3 separate regions of the Homo sapiens genome follow, and all the other regions are linked to region 1. Evidence: promoter capture Hi-C in 16 types of primary human blood cells and fetal thymus (Javierre and others, 2016). All regions are on one chromosome and are shown on one strand. Each heading gives the region's core, a stretch centred on a gene start or on the middle of the fragment in contact. The rest is flanking DNA. Distances are from core to core; before and after follow the strand shown.

Region 1 (4,321 bases), core at 1,560-4,059:
TGCGCCACCATGCCTGGCTAATTTTTGTATTTAGTAGTGACGGGTTTCACCATGTTGGCCAGGCTCTTCTTGAACTCCTGACCTCGTGATCCACCCGCCTTGGCCTCCCAAAGTGCTGGGATTACAGGTGTAAGCCACCACACCCAGCCAACACTCTTTTTAAGAGAGAGAGAGGATCTCACTATGTCGCCCAGGCTGGTTTAAAATTCCTGGGCTCAAGCAATCCTCTGGCCTCGGCCTCCTGAGTAGTTGGGCATCTGTAGGAACATTCCAACACACCAGCAAAAGACTCTCTCACTGACCAAACTTCAGTCAGGTTCCTCTGAGCCATCTTCTTGAATAGACCTCAAACCCTGGCCCCAATCCTATCTTTGGGCTGCCTAGCCCAGTTTTAATAAGAATACTTCTAAGTCAGTTTAGACAGAATCTTCTACCCCTGATATCTGATCACCCTATCTGGTCAAATTCTTCATCTTTGCAATGTTCTTATTGCAACAGTCCTCAATAAAGTCAGACTAATTTTTTCTTTAACATGACCCCAAGAAAAAACAGAATTTATAAGATTAATCTGTAATAGCTGTTACTATTCCTATACAGCAGTATTATAAAAGTAGTCCAAAGGGTATTTGATATCTGATGTAGCACTGTCCAATAGATAAAATACAAGTAGGCAACTTTCTTGTAGCCCAAGAATTGGAATTATAATCGGAATTAGAATATTTAAACCAATATATCGAAAATATAATTTTTACATAAAATCAATATAAGAGATTTTAGATTCTTGTTTTTCACATTAAGTCTTCAAAATCCAGTGTGCTACATATTTTGTACTTCTGCGTCTCAGTTCCAAAACCTTCATCAGAAATACTTGTCTGTATTGGATTTAAAAACTTTACATTTAAAATATACATGCACATACCCAAGTTATTCCAAACATACTTTTTTCCAATAATGTAATCAAATATCCAATTTTAAACTTAAAATTAAAAATGAAGTTATGAGCCCAGGTGGTCAGCGTTGCAGTTAACCGTGACTGGGCAAGTGCATTCCAGCCTGGGCAACAGAGCAAGACCCTGTCTTAAAAAAAAAAAAAATTAAAGTTCGGTTCCTCAATTCCACTAGCCACATTTCAAGTGCCCACTTGCCATGTGTAGCTACTGGACAGCAGGGAGCTACACCCTAGGTACTCCCAATGTGGTTTCCAAACCAGTGGCATCTTCACCTAGAAACTTTAGAAACACAAAAGCTTGGGCCTCACCCTAGACCTCCTTAAACAGAATCTGCAACTTAACAAAATCCCCAGGTGATCCATATACACAACCACATTGGGGAACACTACTTAGAGTGTTTTTAAAATAGATTTTGCTACTTTAACACCTAGTGATAAAAGTAAAAACATTTATTTTACTTACATACACCAAATGTGACTCTTTCATCTATGTATACCCTTGTTTACCTCAACCAACACCCCGGGAAATGCTAGGACCTAAATGTGATCAATTTTGTTTGCAATTATCTCACAATACATCCAGGTGATAATTCTTAAGAGTCAAAGACGCAGCTAAGAAGGGTGGCATTACCTGTAGATTATTTTCTTCCATTTTGTTTCGAAGTTTTGTTGAAACAAAAATGAAGATTTATCCTTCAAGCTCTATTTGAGAGAATCAGCACTGACTCAGCTGTAATAAATACAAAACCGTTTTTGTAAAGCGATACCTGAAAGAAATAGCTGCCTAGTTCAGAAGGGAAGAACGAAAGCCTCTTTCTTACTCCTTACTACAGTATATAATTTAAATAGAACGCTTAAAAGTAAATAATGAATTCACCTCTGAGTACTCAAAAAAAAAAAAAAAAACACGAAAGCAGGACTCGAACAGATATTTATACACCGAAGTTCATAGCATTATTCACAATAGCCAATCTGTGGATTAAATGTGGACTACCATTTAATCCACAGAATGTATCCAGTATTTTTTCAGACATTCGCAAACAGGCTCAGAAAGCGTAACTTTTCACTACGTCAAACCCTACTAAGAGCGAAAACAGCCATCCTTTCCCTTTACTATCATGAATAGTTCAACTAGATACAAACGGAGCAATCTTAGGAGTTCTGCCCATTTCATTGCTAAGACCCTCAACTTCAAATTTTTTCAAAAATTTTTCCACACATCGTCAAAATGAAATTTCGAGGGGGAAAAAAAGTGTCCTTGATAAACTAGAGATGCTCCAACATCTATTCAATTCACTCACGAACTTGAATTTAAATTTTAGTTCTCTATTGCACATGTGTCTCCAACAACTAGACTTTAATCTGGAATCTAGGCAACATGTTAGTCACCAACTTGTATTAAGAAACCCTGGCCGGGCGCGGTGGCTCACGCCTGTAATCCCAGCACTTTGGGAGGCCGAGGCGGGCGGATCACGAGGTCAGGAGATCGAGACCATCCCGGCTAAAACGGTGAAACCCCGTCTCTACTAAAAATACAAAAAATTAGCCGGGCGTAGTGGCGGGCGCCTGTAGTCCCAGCTACTTGGGAGGCTGAGGCAGGAGAATGGCATGAACCCGGGAGGCGGAGCTTGCAGTGAGCCGAGATCCCGCCACTGCACTCCAGCCTGGGCGACAGAGCGAGACTCCGTCTCAAAAAAAAAAAAAGAAAAAGAAAAAGAAACCCTGCTCACTGAAACCAACGCTTCTGTCTTTGTACGGGCCGTCGCTTCCATCATCCTGCGGTAAGCAGCATGCCCAACCGAAAAAACAAAGCTCGTCGCGGAGCCGCCAGCGTCCTCAACTCAGCGCCGCCCTGACGCCCGCGCACGCACGGCCTCGCTGCGTGACGCTACCGCCGCGGCTACGCCGGCGCCCGCACCCGCGCCTCGGCCTCCCCGCGGGGCTCGCCAACCTCGTGCGCTCTCACGGTCGGCCTTGGGCCCCGGGAGCCTCATGGTGCGCCGAGCTCCGTCCCTCTAGGCTCTCAGTTCCAAGGCGTCGGTTTTGCGTCTCGTAACGGCCGCTGTGGCGCATGCCCAGAAGCCATTTTCAAGGTCCTCTTCCGAACCTTGGCGAGGACCCCTGCGCCTGCCGCGCCGTTGACCCCGCTAGCGTGCGGCTGCGACGCGGCACGGTACGGCAGCTGTTGGCGAAGGCCCCCAACTCCGAGCGCGTCCGCAGACCGCGAGCCGGAAGGCGGCTTGGGCGGCTGTTGAGTTCGTGGCGCTCCCGAGGCGTGGCAAAGGCCTAAAAACGGTCCTGGCCAGCGGAAGGCGGCAAGAGGAGCAGCAAGGCTCCACGCGAGGCGGCCGGCGGCTGGAGTCCCAGTCAGCCTCCGCTTTCATCCCAGAGCAGTCCACGGGGGCCTTAAAGGAATGTAGGCTGGGTGAAGTTGGCCCAGTGACACCTGCGTTCAGAAAAACGTTCTTTCCGCTCCCAACGCCCCCTCTCCACCGCCACCCGACCCCCGAAATAGTTTTCCCCGAGTGTTGTGGATAGAACTGTTGATCTCTTGGAAAAGTTATTGTATCCTGCCATCCTTCCCTCTGGAGACTCCACTTAATATATATAAGTACTTTCTTTCCTGTATATGATGGAAGAGTATTAGGGGGGTGAGGGGAGGGACGAAGCTGCCTTCTTTAGGGAAAAAAGATTGACTTATATTTTGAAAGATGCAAAAGCTGGTGTTTTTGCTACTGAATTAATAGCCTATTAATATGCCACAAATGATATATTGGAACTGTATTTTCAAACATTTAACGCCTGCTGTATGCAAAGCACTATGCTGACAGCTTAAGGGTACCACAATGATAAATTACACCAATCTTGTTTTTGGCATTTTGGGGAGTCTAGTGTCATAGGTAAAGAAGTACATAACTAACAATAAGCTTCAAAAATTCAATCATAAGGCCCGGCACCGTGGCTTCCGCCTGTAATCCCAGCACTTTGGGGGATCACTTGAGCCCCGGAGTGTGAGACCCCGTCTCTACCAAAAAAAAAAAGAAATTAGCTGGGCATGGTGGTGCCTGCCTGTGGTCCCAACTGTTTGGGAGGCTGAGGCCGGAGGATCACTTGACCCCAGGAATCTGAGCCTGCAGTGAGCTATGATTGCACCACTGCACTCCAGTCTGGGCGACAGAACCAGACCATGTCTAAAAAGAAAAAACACTCAGTGATAATTTCACATTACAGTTTGAGAGGTTCCTGTTGACTTGGGGAAACTAGTTTTAGCAGACTTCATTAAAGGAGTGTACACCTTACTACAGGATGTAATTTAAAATAGAATGTTTAAATAATAAATTCACTTCTGGGTATATACTCAAAGCAGGAATT
Region 2 (3,804 bases), core at 733-3,232, 150 kb before region 1:
CAATACATGAGGCAGCTACAGCCTCCTAGACGCTCAGACCAAGAACTTTGACAGTATCCTTAACTATTCACTTTCTTTAACACCCTACACATGATCCAGAAGTAAATCTTGTCAGTATTTCAAAATCTACCTGGCATCTACTCACTTCTCACCCTCATCCATCCTGGTGCAAGCCATCCTAAAATCTTGTCTGTTATTATTGCAGCACTGTCTTAATTGGTCTCTCTGTTTTCACCCTTGCCGTTATAAACTATTCGCAGTACACCAGCCAGAATGAGATGGTTAAAACTTAAGTTAGATCATGTCACACCTCTGTTTAAAACCACCCAATGACTTAACTGAGTAAAAACCAAAGTTCTTACAATTTCCTGGAAGCCTTATGTGATCTGGCCTCCTATTACCTCTAGATTTCATCTCCTACCACGCTCTCCCTCATTCACTCTATTCTGCACACACTGGCCTCCTCTCAATGCCCTAACCCTGTCAGAGACACTACCTACTTCACCCTTTGCTGTTGCTATTTCCTTTGCCTGGAAAGCTCTTCCCCCAAAGATCATCATAGCTCCCTCTCTTACTTCCTCCTTATCTCTACTCAAATGTCACTTTCAAGAATTCCCTACTCACCACAGTTAAATTGCATTTCCCCAACACACACACACACACACACACACACACACACACACACACACGAGTCTCCCTCCTCTGCTTCATTTCCCCTTAGCACTTTTCATTATCTAACATAGCTTAATTATTTATCTAGTTTATTGTTTTTCTCCTCTTGTTTATGGTGAGCTCTATGAGAGCAAGGATTTTGGCCTATTTCCTTCACTACTGCATCCTTAGCACCTAGATGAATGACAGGCATATCACAGACACTCAATAAATATTTGTTAGTAAATAAATAAATCCACTTTTCATCACCACCTCTTGTGCTCTACACTCAGAGGTTGAAATATTGAGTCTTATTCAAGGACTCCCTGTCTTGAGTTGTTGGAACCCTTTTCTCCCAATCAGTCATCTCCTGTCTCTATAACAGATCCAACATGTCCTTCTCTGGTGACTACTTCTCAGATCTCTCCTATCCACCAAAAGATAATAAAAATAAAATTTAAAAAGACTTGTCCTCTCCTTCTCATTTAAATTTCTCTTAAACCACATCCCCACATTAACCATTTCTCTTAAACCACAGTCCCCACATCCTCACCCTCACCCACTCAACAGCCTTATGCAACCTGACTTAACCCTTTACCACACTACTCAAACTCCTTTCACTGACATCCCCGGAAATCTCCCAAACGCCAGATCCAATGGATATTTTTCAATAATGTTATTGCTGCTCTTTTCTGCTGAAAAAAGGAAGGATCTAAAAAATGAAGACACATAAAATGTTCAAGAAATAGAGGATGAAACATCATAAATACATCAATTCTCCCCAATATTAAGCTATTAATTCAATAAATTGCAATCAAAATTCCAAAAATGATATATATATATATGTGCATGTGTATGCACATGTATATAACAAAACAATCTGATTCTAAAATTCATATAGAAGAGGAAAGGGTCAAAAATAGCATTGACACTATTGGAGATGAATGTAAGTCCAGATGTCGAGATGTATTATACAGTGATAGTAATTAAGACATGCGGTATTGATACACAGTAGACAACAACTAATATAACAGGAAAAGGAAACCAGAAACACACCCATACACAGATGGAAATTTAATATATGACTAGAGGTAAGCATTTCAAATCTGTAGGAAAAGGATGGGACTAACCAATAAATGGTGATAGGACAATTGACTATACAGAAAAAAAAAGAAATTGAATCCCTATTTCACACCATACACAAACATCAATTACAGGTGAATTAAAGAACTAAATATGAAATATCTAAATATTTAAATAAGATATTGATGAATATCTTCATGCCCCAGGGTAAGGAAGAATTTCTCAATATGTCAAAAGCACAACCATAAAAGAAAAAGAGACAAATATAACTGCATTAAAATTTAAAATGTCTGCACAACAAAAAAACACCAAAAATTTGTTTTAAATAAGCAACAAGCTGGGAAAAGATATTCATATTGCATAATGCCAACATAGGATTAATATCCAGAATTTAGAAAGAACACCTACAAGCCATTAAGAAAAAGACAACCAATCTCGCTGAAAAATTGACAAAAGGAATAAACAGGTAATTCACAAAAAAAATCCAAATGACCAGCAAATATATGAAGAGATAGTTTTACTAGTAATAAGGAATATAATTAATTACATTTAGTTACATTAAAAATAATGAGATAATATTTCTGACCCATAGGTTTGGAAAATATTAAAATATTAGAATACTACGGTATCAAGTGTTGGAATGGAAATACATTTCTGGTAGGAATCTAAGGTGGTACAACTACTTTGGAGAGCAATTTGGAATATTTAATTAAAGTTAAATATCTGTAAAGCCTATGACCAAACAATTCCACCGCAAGTAATACACAAGGAGATGCACACAAGAATATCCATTGCAGCTTTATATTATATTAGCAACAAAAGAAATTTTTAACCTAAATAACCACCATCAGAATTCATAAGTAAACTGAGTTATATTTATTAAATGGAACCATACAGTGGTTAAAATAATTGAACTAGAGCTATATGCATTGACATAAATAAATCTCCAAAAATTGAAGGATTAGAAAATAGTCATAAAAAAATCCTGTATGTCACCATTTAAAGGCTTAAGACATAAGAAACAATATCCTATATTTTAACAGTATATGTATAGTAAAATGTATGCAAATATAAAAGTCTATATGAGAATAATAAGTTCAGAATAGTAGTTACTTCTGGCAGGAATGGAGGAAATGGGTTTAGAGAATAATACATTGAAAATGTTTGCTGCCTGTAATTTTGTTTTTAAAAATCTGAATCAAATATGTAAAATGTTAAATATGACAAACACAGTGGTAGGTATGGTTTTTGGTTATATTATTCTCTTTATTGTTCTGTATAAAATAGTTCATAATAAGTTAGCCTTATTTCAGGAATGTTTAACATGACAAAATCTATTACTATAATTCATTATATAAATAGGTCAAATGACACATTATACAGTTTAATAAAATTCAGCACTCTCCTGATAAGATACTTTTCTTTGTTGTTCTTCTATATGTTCCTGTCATAATCCTTGCCACATTGCAACTGTCTGTTCACTGTTAGCACATGTGCGTGTACACACACACACACACACACACACACACACAGTGGACTGTCAGCTCTGTAAGGACAGGCACAAGGGCCAGGCTACCACTGCATCCTCGTTAGCTAGTACATGCCCAGCAAAAAGGATCAAACTTGATAAATATAAAATGACATAATCTTATAAAAAGCAATAAATCTATACACTAAAATGATACCAGGTTAACATTTGGGTGATTGGATTATGGTGACATTGGGGAAGTTACTTAACCTCACTTCTCAACAATTTCCTCTTCTGTGAAAAATAATAGACTTGGTCTCTAAAGTCTTGTGAGGATTAAATGAGATAATGTATGTAATGTTCTTAGAAGAGTGCTAGCAGACAGATGTTCAATAATGAAAAGCCATTATTCATATTTTTCTAACATTTCCATAGTTATCACTTTTATCATTAAAAAGGGTTTAGAGCTAATAAAATTAATAATAATAAAAATTAAGTTTAATATATACATACATATATGAGAGCTGACCTTTCAAGAATCTTCTCTGCCTCTTTTTTAGGAATATTTATACCTGTTAACTTGAGAGCATCGATAAATTTCT
Region 3 (3,970 bases), core at 1,344-3,843, 240 kb after region 1:
TTAGGGAAAACCTATCATTAGTGACTGCTTTGGGTGACCGAGCGGCACAAGGACGTGCCTTTGGAAATCTTGGAAACACACATTACCTCCTTGGCAACTTCAGGGATGCAGTTATAGCTCATGAGCAGGTACAGTGGAAAGCCTTGGAGCCAGATCATTTCCTCCATCAAAGTTCTGAACAGTGATTAGATCATTCTTCAGTTTTATTTTATCTACATCTAATTAAAATTGTTTGTTTCAGCGTCTCCTTATTGCAAAAGAATTTGGAGATAAAGCAGCTGAAAGAAGAGCATATAGCAACCTTGGAAATGCATATATATTTCTTGGTGAATTTGAAACTGCCTCGGAATACTACAAGTTAGTCTAATATTTCTGTAGATAAATGTAAAATGAATACTCAGTCCCATTAATTCATAGGCTTTAGGTTTAAAATCTGATTGTAGCAGAACTTTTGGCATCTAAGCCTCAATTTCCTTATCTGTAACAGAATATATCAATACTTCATTTTGGGGAATGCTGTGAGGATTGAATGAAATAATATACTAAACACAGTATCTGGTACACAGTGCTCAATAAATATTATTGTACATAAGATTTAATAGCAGCAGTATGACCCCTTTATAATATTGGTTTTTATCTTTAAAAGTAATTGTTTTTAAATGAAGTTTTCAACCTTTAATATCTTTTAAACCTGTTTAGCATATGTGGTGTATATTGTGTATATGCTTTATTTCACTCAGTTATGGGTTAGAAGAGAGGCCAAAAGAAAGCCTTGTAACAAAAATATTTATAGTCTATACCAGTGATCACTGAATTTTTTTCTCTACCTTCCCACCCTCTTATTGAGCAGTTCTCCCTTTACCCTCTTTCTGCCTATATTTGACTGTCACTGTAAGCTGAGTCCCCCATTCACTTACCTGAAGCATTTACAATCCCAGCTTCTTCTGTGGCAGGATCTCTCTTATCAGTAGATTTGAGACATAGATGATAGAAAGTTTAGACAGCTTCAAGTTGCCTGATCTGTGCTTTCTAGATTGAGTTTTCCCTAGTTAGTGGGGATTGAAGCCTCTTACAGATTTTGGGTAGAAGGCAGTTTGACTAAACCGAAGACACAGTGATTGATTTGTATTTTGTTAAAGAAGCCAATATGAGACAGTTCTGGATAATTTGTCATCTTCATAAAAAAGGTAAAATTGTTTTAGGCCTATCTAAAAAAATTAAATAGCATTCCACTTTGCTTTAAACATCAACTAATGGTTAATATTTGTTGGTTAGGTTAGTTAGATATGAAATAGCCTCCCAAATAAAATATATCACTGTGTACTATGTGAAGGAGTATATATTTTGATTTTAAATATAAAAATTTCCTATATTTAAAGCCAAGGGATATAGAGAAGTCTTAATTATTAAATGGTGTATCTGTGTTAAATACTGAAAGGTTCTATTATAAAATGGATAGTGGCTATTTGACTAAAGAAGCATGAATATAAAGTAATGAAACTTAGTTTTTTTCCTCCCAATAAGCAGGCTAGAACTCAGAACTTTATATATATTCCAAGTCGTTGGTTAGAAATATTTTTAGAACTCTTCTTTAGATTTTTTTTTTTTTTTTTTTTTTAAATACGGAGTTTTGCTCTTGTCGCCCAGGCTGGAGTGCAATGGCACAATCTTGGTGCACTGCAACCTCGGCCTCCCCGGTTCAAGCGATTCTCCTGCCTCAGCTTCTGAGCAGCTGGGATTACAGGTGTCTGCCACCACGCCCAGCTAATTTTTGTATTTTTAGTAGAGACGGGGTTTCGCCATGTTGGCCAGGCTAGTCTGGGACTCCTGACCTCAAGTGATCCGCCCACCTCAGCCTCCCAAAGTGCTGGGATTACAGGCGTGAACCACCACACCCAGCCTGGAATTGTTATCAGGGCCAAACAAGAAGGCTAACAATGTAGATCCATATCCTTCCGGATACAAAGCAGTAGTTTGGTAAACCTATGTTAGTAATTGAATTTGGTTCCAGAAAGATTTCTGATCATTTACAAATCAACTGTACCATCAAAGAATAATGGTATGCCAGAAAGCATTATGCCACAGGATCTGAAAGCAATTCCAAAAGTCTTTCAAAAATATTTGAAAAGACAGGCAACATTAGAATAAGTAGGTAGCCTCCCAAGGTGACAGATTTGAAGGTATCATCATTAAATATGTAACTTTAGATTTGTTTGCTTAAAAAAAGCTATCACGTTACCGCATAGTAATTTGTCATATAGTTATAAGTGATATGAAGTAATTATACTATTTGACAGAAATAATGGGAGGGTCATTTAAATTACTGAATCCAAAAGCATCTATAGGTTTAAGCACTGATAATAACACATTAACATTTATACAGCAACTACTATGCACAAGATGCTATTCTAAGCACTTTATACATATTAATTTAATCCTCACAAAAATCCTTCGAGATATTTCCCCCATTTTATATAAGAAGAGACTGGTATACAGAGAGATTGAGTGACTTTGCCCTTAGCTTAGTAATTGGCAAAGTTGGGATTTAAACCCAGTCTAGCTCCAAGATCTATGCTCTTAACTGCTACGCTAGCTTCTCACTGGCAATACCACAGGTAGAATTTGGGTAATGTTTGGATGTAGTATTCAGTATTTTTCATGAGTTGGTGACTAATGCCCGATACATAAGAATTTTACCTAAGTGGTGACTAATAGCCTACACATAAGAATTTTACCTAAATATTTTAAATTTTGACAATGCAAAGGTGACGGTATGATTGAAAACAGATGTCATGTGGAAAAAAGCCTCTTTTAGCTATTGCCAATACTAAAGGGAAAGTTTTTTTAAATGTTAAAGATATTATGTTAATCTCTAGAACCTCTTGATTTTATGTTTCAATACTCCTTTACTTTGATGAATTGTTAGGATTCTCAAATTTATTCTAAAAGTCTTGAATCTTCTTTCTGTGTTTCAAAAACGTCTTTTCATTTTGTCTAAAAGTAATGGAGAAAGTACGGGATATGAATATTAGGCTCTCAGAGATTTAAAGACAGCAGAAAGCAGCAGAGAGGAAAAATGAGAGTTTTGTTTTGTGATTCTTAAAGCCCAAACTGAGAATGATCATTATATAAGAATTAATTTCTTCTTGTAGGAAGACACTACTGTTGGCCCGACAGCTTAAAGACCGAGCTGTAGAAGCACAGTCTTGTTACAGTCTTGGAAATACATATACTTTACTTCAAGACTATGAAAAGGCCATTGATTATCATCTGAAGCACTTAGCAATTGCTCAAGAGCTGAATGATAGGTATGTTTTACGTCTTTTTACCATAACTAAGGTAAAATATAGATGCATTATTGAATCCCTAGAATTTTTCCTTTGTTTCTTTTCCTTTGTTTTCCTTAAAATCCCTTTTAAGGAATTTTCTTTCAGTGATATCCTCTGTATATCATTGTATGAAGGGCTAGTCTGTGATAGAGGATTAGTCTGGTTCCATATGCCCTTGACCCAAGATCAATGACTAGGTCCCAAACTCAATTACCTCTTCAGAAGTCTTCCTGGTGAAACCCCGTATCTACTAAAAATACAAAAATTAGCCGGGTGTGGTGGCGCACGCTTGTAATCCCAGCTACTCAGGAGGCTGAGGCAGGAGAATCGCTTGAACCCAGGAGGTGGAGGTTGCAGTGAGCTGAGATCACGCCACTGCGCTCCAGCCTGGCGACAGAGCAAGACTGCATCTCAAAAAAAAAAAAAAAAAAGTTTTCCTAACTACATAAGTGTGGGAATTGTGGTGAACTTAGAGATAATGTCCAGTGTGAAGGGGGCAACTGCTACCCAACTCCAACTAATTGTTGCCAGCCAGGAATGAAAATCCGTTATGTCCACATCTTCCTGTTTTTTAAAGAGAAGCTGGAAGTGCTGAGTTTTATATGAAATCTGATTTTTAAATGTTAGTGGCTAATTCAGTT

What was found. Contacts are between HindIII fragments. The CHiCAGO score rates a contact against its expected background, and 5 or more counts as called.
Region 2: a contact is called between a fragment that was not itself captured here and the fragment with the promoter of HENMT1 in region 1, in 5 of 17 cell types (non-activated CD4 T cells, activated CD4 T cells, total CD8 T cells and 2 more). The highest score is 6.9, in non-activated CD4 T cells.
Region 3: a fragment that was not itself captured here is called in contact with the fragment with the promoter of HENMT1 in region 1 in 2 of 17 cell types (total CD8 T cells and naive CD4 T cells); the score reaches 6.6 in total CD8 T cells.

Annotation. Positions count from the first base shown.
Region 1 is chr1:108,658,284-108,662,604 of GRCh38, forward strand. It overlaps HENMT1 (HEN methyltransferase 1), which reads right to left and starts at 2,810. Exons shown (of 8, transcript NM_001102592.2): 1 at 2,680-2,810; 2 at 1,581-1,679. The coding sequence starts at 1,601. RefSeq lists enhancers at 2,529-3,118, 3,119-3,707 and a silencer at 2,774-2,943. The HindIII fragment of the contact is 2,630 bases long and covers 1,245-3,874 here.
Region 2 is chr1:108,504,672-108,508,475 of GRCh38, forward strand. No RefSeq gene overlaps it. Among named protein-coding and RNA genes, the nearest start is that of EEIG2, 54 kb to the right of the region's middle. RefSeq lists a silencer at 1-57. The HindIII fragment of the contact is 8,656 bases long and covers 1-3,804 here.
Region 3 is chr1:108,898,638-108,902,607 of GRCh38, forward strand. It overlaps GPSM2 (G protein signaling modulator 2), which reads left to right. Exons shown (of 15, transcript NM_013296.5): 6 at 5-128; 7 at 242-357; 8 at 3,153-3,308. Among named protein-coding and RNA genes, the nearest start is that of GPSM2, 24 kb to the left of the region's middle. The HindIII fragment of the contact is 5,386 bases long and covers 1-3,970 here.